3 separate regions of the Homo sapiens genome follow, and regions 1 and 2 are each linked to region 3. The links are contacts of gene promoters, found by promoter capture Hi-C in blood cells and fetal thymus (Javierre and others, 2016). All regions are on one chromosome and are shown on one strand. Each heading gives the region's core, a stretch centred on a gene start or on the middle of the fragment in contact. The rest is flanking DNA. Distances are from core to core; before and after follow the strand shown.

Region 1 (2,500 bases), core at 1-2,500, about 25 Mb after region 3:
CACAACCTAGTGAAAAGAAAAGAAATGTCATTTCACTGTCAGTAGACACCACCTAATAATTCTTTAAATATTGTTAAGGCCAATTTAAATATCTAAGTTTTCATAGCCCTTACACTAACGGACAAAAATTTGTTTATGGAAAGATTAACAGTCAACATAAGGGGGAAACAATTACTTAAGAGCAATATGCACAGCACAAAGTAAATGAAACAGACTAATCATCTAGTTCTTCTAAATGTCATTTTGTGCCAGGCAAGCAATATTCAAATGCCACAGTTAAAAAAAAAAAAATCCCTTACTTCACAATCTTTCTTCTCTTCAGGCCCCTTTGGTCCTCTAACTCGATCCTCTAAGGGGACGTTCTGGATGAAAGTATACTCTTCAGGTATTGGAAAATATGGCTTTTCCTTCTGACCAAAATTAAATTCAACTGCACAGTTGTGGCAGAGAACATGCGGGAACAGTGGCCGTCCAGCAAGAACTTCCTTACTGATTTTGAAGGCAACGCCAAGATCTTGTCCATTCTTAGCATACGAGAGTTCTACTTCATCACTTTCAAAGTTCTGTTACACAGAAAAAAATTCAACAGTTAAAATCTGCTTCCTTAAACTTTCTAAAAAACTAAGAATTAAAATTAGGAGCAAAGCTTATCCTGTGGAAGCTACAGGTTAAAGAACTATTAGGTGGCCTTTAAGGGCTACACAGTTAAGAAATCTGATGGTTGTAAACCATGAAGCACGTATCTCCAGAACCAGAAACAATACTGACCTAGAAGCTAGACTGAATTTTCTAGGTCAATTTCATGTTCACTGTTTTCAGTCAAAATGAATTAGTGAGTTCCTCAAAAATGTCCTGTGTTTTCCCAATTCAACTGCTGAATGAAGTCTTTACACTAATCCAGGGACTGGTGTATTTTGTTGCTCATATTGAAAACTGACCTCAGTAAAGCTTCTTTAAAGTTCCTAGATATAGCTACTAACTTTGCCATTTATACATAGAAAGTTAGCTTTAACTTACAGCAAAACATGTAATCACATCATTTTCATCAAACTTTTCTCCATAATCTTCAGTCTCACAGTTGCATGTTTTTATTCCTTTTAGAGAATACCCATAAGAAAATTCTTCTTCACCTAAGAAAATAATTAATCTTCATGAAGTAGATGTTTAAAATAGTCCAAAGACTCATCTATTTTACTACTTAAGATGTAGGCTACAAGAGAAATAAGCATATAACCTAATCACCTGTCACTGACACTATTACTTTTCTATCTCTGTACCAGAATTGATGGAAGTTAGGAGGGATATATACGCAGAGACCAAATTAGTTGACGATTTGCATATCACGGGTAAGATTTTATTTCAACCATTGGTCATAAACTTCTAATAAAGGAACAAAAACTAAAATGTAGCCTGTGCCTACTATGTGCTAATATTACCTGTCTGAAGTATTAACAGAATAGATAAAAACAGACAAAAGGCTTAGAATGCCCTCTAGTTAAAAAACACTGAAATCAGACCCTCCTGAACATTCATGAGCCCACATCAGTCAAAAAGAAGCTTTACCAAGTAACATTCCACTTGTAGTTAGTGACCAGCCAATACGAACTTCATGTATGTCAATATCTTTTGTATATAAATGCCTTACTGGGATCTTCTCTGTAACCTGAAAGTCAAATCATTAAATAATTAAAATAATACACCAAGGAGGTAACCCCTTAACTCTCGCATATTTCATTGCGCCACGGGCTAATCTTCCTCTAGCTATAAATACAAAGAAGGCACACTCTAGCCCACCCCCAATATTTGTAAGAACTTTAAACTGATGTGCTTATAACTTGAAATTTAAAGAGTTAAATACTTATTTGACCCATATTTAAAAGAATACTTAATATTTTTAAAGTTCATGTTGTCAGTCTTTAACTTAAAGCCAATTAAAGGATACAATTAATGTTTTTCTCACCAACAAAAGCAGTAATGTAACCAAATTTTATTTTTAACTCTTTGGTGGCCCTTTCAAATGCTTGATAAAAATGAAGTACCCTAAATAAAAAATCGCCTAGCTCTGCATGGCAAGTTCTAACATAACAACCGTGATTAACTGTCACAACAAAATGAAGGTTCCAAGCTCCTCTTTTAATTTACAGGAAGCTTCAAAAATAAGTACCTTTGATAACTTAGCAGTATGAAGCACCTGTAATTCCAGCATTCTGAGAGGCTCAGGCGGGCAGATCACTTGAGCTTAGGAGTTCAAGACCAGCCTGGGCAACATGGTGAGACCTTGTCACTATTTTAAAAAGGAAAAAAAAAGGCTGGGCACAGTGGCTCATGCCTGTAATCCCAGCACTTTGGGACGCCGAGACAGTGGATCACCTGAGGTCAAGAGTTGGCGACCAGCCTGGCCTACGTGGTGAAACCCCATCTCTATTAAAAATACAAAAATTAGCCAGGTGTGGTAGTGTGTGCCTCTAGTCCGAGCTACTTGAGAGACTGAAGCAAGGAG
Region 2 (2,872 bases), core at 193-2,692, about 40 Mb before region 3:
TAGGAAAGGTGCCTACTCTCTATGGCCTTCAGTTTCCTTTACTGTAAAAGAAGGGCATTATTTCCTCTGGTGTTCATAGCTCTAAAATTTTTAGATTGTATCAAACAGAAAGGAAGACATACTCAACGAAAACATAAATCAAAGATATTTAGGATTTTATAAAAATCACAATAAAAGTTGTAATACTGCATTTTGCATTGCATCACATTATTATTATTATTATTATTTGAGGTGGAGTTTCTTCGCTCTTGTTGCCCAGGCTGGAGTGCAATGGCGCACAATCTTCGCTCACCGCAACCTCCGCCTCCTCAGCCTCCCGAGTAGCTGGGATTACAGGCATGCGCCACCACGCTCGGCTAACTTAGTAGAGACGGGGTTTCTCCATGTTGGTCAGGCTGGTCTCCAACTCCCGACCTCAGGTGATCCTCCCGCCTCGGCCTCCCAAAGTGCTGGGATTACAGCCGTGAGCAACCACGCCCAGCCCTGCATCACATTATTACAATCCTATTATCTTTTTGGATCTCTATATAGTTTTATTAACTTTACCGTATTTACTTCCATGTGGCCCTCTGGGAAAGAGTAAATGAATGATATATCTTATTTTATCCTCATTTTGTAAAGGTTCTTGGGCTGGTAAAATGCAAGATCACTGAATAAGTCAGAGAAAAAAACACAAAAACAATGTCCAGTGTCCAGCTAAATAAACATCACTCCTAAGAAAGCAAACATCTTTTCCACGTTCAGGATGATGCTCATCCCCAGCAGATGGTCAAAAAAAAAAAAACAAAACAAAATACACATACACAAGCTTCATTACACCTAGCTATTAACCATACATGCTTGCTATCAGTTGTTGAGGAAGAAGGCTCCGTGTCTTTCTCCCCCATCCACCCTCTCCCTGCTACTTTACCTGTTTGTACCTGGCATACAGGTACAAGAGCTGCTCCCTGCTGGCCACCTGAATCAGGCCTTGCAGGTGCGCGGCAGCCTTCTCAAACAGCTCGGCCAGGCAACTGGTCTCCTCGATCTCAGGGCTATGGGGGAACTCCACCTCCCCGGAGTCGTCCCCTGAGCTCAGCTCTCCACCGCTGTCGCCGGTGATGGCCCCCGCGGGCAGGAATGATGAAGCCATGTCTCCTTGCTCGCTCCGTCCCTCTGTGTCCGGTCTGTCCTCCTTGGATTGGGTGTAAGGCCGGCTTGGAGGCCTGGCCCACCAGTCTGGGTCGCGAGCCTGAGCTCCAGTCGGACCCAAGCTCAGTCGCGGCGCGCTCCCTCACGTGACCCTGCTCCCTGCCCACTTCTACTCCCTGGGCGTGCAGAGCAGGCTCCTCGACCCTCTGCCGCTCTGCCCAGTCGACCCGGTCTCCTCCGGCTTCCCTCCGGCCAACAGCGCGCTCAGGCTCGCCTCAGGCCCCTCCAACGGAACAGGAGTCGAGGGGCAGTGAGGCCGGGATGCGTGCGAGCGCGGGGCGCGGCTGGCGCTGGGCCGTGGGGGCGGGGCGGCGTGCGTGCCAGCGGCGTGCGATTCTGTGAGGCCTGCTCTGCGCCGGCGGGGAAGCGCGGGCGACGCTACGCTGGACGTCCTTCCCTGCCGGAGGAGAGAAAGTGCCGTCAGCTGTAGGGGCGTCTTTTAATCGTTTCGCTGAAATTAGCAGTCCCGAGCTCCGGAGCCCGCCACCGGGATGGGCCCCCGGGGGTGGGGGAAGGAGGCCGTTTGTGTGGTAGTGTAGCGGTGAGAGCGGAGTCGCGGGAAACGCGAGGCTGAGGACTAAGGTTCCGCCTGCCCCAGATTGTGCGCCCCAAGCGCCTCCAAACAGCCCTGCGCGCGGATCTGTTGCGTGCGCGTTGGGCTCTGTGTTGAATAATGAAAAACTGCGAGATGGGGCTGTCCCGTCTTACTGTGTGACTGATGAGTGGAATCACTGCTCTGCGTGTTTCGCTCTCCACACCTTCGGAGCCCGCACCTCTCCGGGCCCTGAATAATAGGGTTTGGGGAGTTCGGGGCGCGCCTTAGCCCAGTTCTCATCCCGAGCTCTGTCTTTGACACTGTGCTTTGTAGACACTGTACAGTGAAACCAGAAGTACGGCACAGTTCGGCCCTAGAGGAATGCACAAAACTATTTTTTTAACTGTAACATTATGAGTGGTTATGTCCTAAATGTTAAACACAACGACGCACTATATATTCATTTAGTATTCAAAACAATGTAATAAGCACTATAAGAAGGGTACAAAGAAAGTGTTGTAAACAGTGGTTATTGACTGGGGTTAGGCTTGCGACGGGTGGACGGACGGCTGGACAGGATGAGGAAGCAATGAGAGAACACAGGAAGGTGAGAAAGCTTGCATCAGGATTCAACAGACATTCCTTAAGTCTCCAGAAAGTTCCACTGTTAGTCCCTGCTGTCAAGGTGCTCGCAATCCAGTCAAAGGGATGTTTAATGACCAAATTCTTGCAATTAAAAAGTGATTAAGAATAATGTATTGAGGACTTGATCATTACAACATAAGGTAGGTACTCTTATTTTACTACACATAGGAAATCAGCACAGAGTGGTTAAGTAACTTGTCAAAGGCTACACAGCTAGCAAATGGAGGAGCAAGGAAAAAGAAGTTAGCTTTCATGTGGGGTAATAATGGATGATGAACCCGACAAGTAGACTGAAGGAGATATAACATGGACTTTTATATCTTTGTTTCTAGAATTTTTATTAAAGTGAGAATTGAATATTATCAACGGCTTTTTTGGCATCTTTGGAGATTATCTGCTTTTCTCCTCTAGTCTTCGAAAGGAATTATATTAACAGTTTCTATTTTAATGAATTATATTAACAAAAATAAATTTGGGATTTAATGAATTATATAATAGCTA
Region 3 (2,852 bases), core at 278-2,777:
TCCTCCTCTCCAGCCATTCAGCTTTTCTTAGTTCTCTAAATACCATGCCATTTCAGGCCTCCCTTCCTCTGCACATGCTATTACTGCTCCTTTACTCCTCTAACTAGTACTTCAAAGGTAGGCTTAAGTATCACCACTTCAAGAAAATGCCTCATGTATATCTCAGTCACACTGAATGGAAGTTAATGATTTGTCTGTAAACCAGAAGTTCCTACAGCAGGGTCCACCAACCTTATTTGGTTTGTAGCACCAATGACTGGCACAAAGTATGCAATCATTCACAGATGGGTTCGATTTGATATCTTCTAAATTTTCTAAAAAAGGGAGAGGAGCTTAGTGGGCTTTATATCACCATTCCGGTATAGCACAAAGTGAGAGCGCTGTACTACAAAGCCAAATGTGCTTCAGGTTGGAAATGCAAAAATAAAATAAAATAAAATAAAATAAAATAAAACACAAGGCACACCCTTTCAAAATGAAATGTACGAAATTCTGAAAGCCTATATAGTATCTAATAAACCAGCCTTGGAACTTTATACTACTTGGGGAAAGGCTTATTAAACACTTTGATGATAAAAATAGGTGGAAGGCTTCAATAAAGCAAATTAACCTTTCTTGGCTATGTCACTGTAATTTTAGTTCCTAATGTAGATTCTCGTTCACTTCCTGACAGGTTATTTTCCTTCTTTGAGAGAGTCTTACCTCAAGAGTCACTCATTTGTCAGCCATTTGTTCTCAAAATCTGAATGGGGGAAATGCAGATGAAAGAAGGGAGAGTGTGGGGGGATGATCAACACTTTCGGAATGGGAGGTAGCAGAAGGCCACAGTCTCCGGGATGGAAGAGAGTGGGAGCTGGGGCAATACCAGAGTGGAGCGCTGACATGTGGCAAGGAACGGGGAGGATGCGATCACGGAGCAGGCAACATGAAACAGGGAACGACCCCAGGCTGAAGATGGGAGACGGAGAAGATACTCAGAGAGAAAGCTAGGAATGTGTGGGGGTGGGGGGAGGGAGGGAGAAAGCGGTGATAGGCAGAGGCGAGAGGAAACAAGACGCAGTTTTTAGCCAGGGGTCAGAGGGCCTAAGGAGAAAAGCTGGGTCGAGAGGAAGACAACACAAATGGGGCTTCAGGACGAGGTGGGCAGGGTGTCATCCCGGAGCGGAGGGGAGGCACGGGGAGAACTGGGGGTCCAGAGGGCAGAGGCAGGAGGCGCAGAGCGAGTAGGAGACTCGAACCCGTGAGCAGAGGCCGCGGGTGACGAGGGAAGGAAGGGCGAGGCCAGAGAGGCACTTACTGGGGTCCCTCCGCAAGGCGCCGCTGAGGATCTCCTCCCGCAGGTGAGGAAAGAGGAAGTCCCGGGCGGCCTGGAGGTCCTGGAAGTAGCAGAACTGGACAATGGAGCAGGCCATGGCTCCAGGGAACCCCACTACGGCACTCACCTTACCTCACCACGCCCTGCCCCCTCCACCCCACTGCGGCCGCCACCGAGCCCCAATAGCTCTAGCCAAGCAGAAGGCGGAGAAACCAAACCGGAAGCTGTCACTGACACGGGTCCGCTGTCTCCGAGTACTGCGCAGGCGCAGGCTGGCCCAGGCGCCTAGGGCGCGGGGGCCCGGGTCACGTGACTACGGCGCCGCCGCTGCAGGTGGAGCCAAAGTCGACGTGGAGGCTTGGGGCAGATTTTTCAGTCCCAGTTGTGTGTCTACGCCGAGGCATGAACCCTTTCATTCATTCTGGCTTTTAGCCAGAGGTGTTCTAATTGGACTTGTCCGCGCAGCCCTTTGACTTATTCAGTCTTATTGGTCCCCTACTATTGGCACGATCCTGATGTTTCACAGAAACTAATTCGTTTTAAACTAGTGGCAGGCCAGTGGGGGACCGTATCCTGCAAGAGTCGGATTTTGAAAAGATTAATTGCTCTTCCGGAGATTAGCCCCGTCAAGGCTGGCTTTAAATGCTCCTACTATAGATTCCCATAGTACTACGCAAGCCCAATATAGTACGTGTTATAGTGTATTATACACTTTTGTTTTCATTATTCATTTGGTTTTTCATTCATGCATTCATCCATCCATTCAACAAATATTTGTTAGTCTTTTAAATGCCAGCCACGCAGGGTGCTGAGCATTAGAGAACAAAAGAGAAGAAGTACCTTTTCCCAGAAAGCTGGAATTCTAGTGACTGATACAGGCAGTAAGCAATTAATTACAGTATTTCCCTTTAATCCAAGGGGATATGTTTTAAGATCCCCAGTGGATGACTCAAACCATGGATAGTACTGAAACCTATGTATGTGTATTATGTTTTTACCTATACATATATATGATAAAGTTAAATTTATAAATTAGGCACAGTGAAAGATTAACAATAACTAATAATTAAATTGAATAATTATGTGGAAAATGAACCCATGGATAAAGGGGGGACTACTGTACTTAACTATTTAACTGAAATTGTGATCATGCTAGTAAGTGCTTCATAAATATTTGCTGAAGAAATAAATGGAATGCATACATAAAGTAAATAGAATAACTTGTTTCTTTGACAAAGCACTATTTTTGAAAGTACTTTACATTGTTCATTTGGATAGTCACAAATGCCATCTAAAAATAGTGTGTCTTATCCCATTTTTAAAATAAAGAAATTGAGCTGTCTCTGAGCAGACTTTAAGTTATTTTTCCAAAAAATAAAAACAAAAAAAATTATTTTAATGTGAGCACAAAGGCCTGTAGGCACTTACACATTTCCTAAAGGAAACCTAAAGAGGCCATCCACTTTGTATGAAAAAAGGGCACAGGAACAAATGAAAGGCAAGTGGATGGGGTCCAGAGCATTCATTTCTGTCAGGC

What was found. Contacts are between HindIII fragments. The CHiCAGO score rates a contact against its expected background, and 5 or more counts as called.
Region 1: a contact is called between a fragment that was not itself captured here and the fragment with the promoter of RAB3GAP2 in region 3, in 1 of 17 cell types (activated CD4 T cells). The highest score is 6.1, in activated CD4 T cells.
Region 2: a contact is called between the fragment with the promoter of ACBD6 here and the fragment with the promoter of RAB3GAP2 in region 3, in 1 of 17 cell types (non-activated CD4 T cells). The highest score is 7.4, in non-activated CD4 T cells.

What each region holds. Positions count from the first base shown.
Region 1 is chr1:244,857,712-244,860,211 of GRCh38, forward strand. HNRNPU (heterogeneous nuclear ribonucleoprotein U) reads right to left here. Exons shown (of 14, transcript NM_031844.3): 5 at 1,564-1,663; 6 at 1,018-1,130; 7 at 300-563; 8 at 1-6. Among named protein-coding and RNA genes, the nearest start is that of SNORA100, 4.7 kb to the left of the region's middle. The HindIII fragment of the contact is 609 bases long and covers 947-1,555 here.
Region 2 is chr1:180,501,135-180,504,006 of GRCh38, forward strand. ACBD6 (acyl-CoA binding domain containing 6) reads right to left here and starts at 1,443. Exons shown (of 8, transcript NM_032360.4): 1 at 911-1,443. The coding sequence starts at 1,132. RefSeq lists enhancers at 1-365, 366-881, 989-1,489, 1,011-1,200 and a silencer at 1,411-1,510. The HindIII fragment of the contact is 1,534 bases long and covers 807-2,340 here.
Region 3 is chr1:220,270,926-220,273,777 of GRCh38, forward strand. It overlaps RAB3GAP2 (RAB3 GTPase activating non-catalytic protein subunit 2), which reads right to left and starts at 1,528. Exons shown (of 35, transcript NM_012414.4): 1 at 1,298-1,528. The coding sequence starts at 1,412. RefSeq lists an enhancer at 1-123. The HindIII fragment of the contact is 3,718 bases long and covers 1-2,852 here.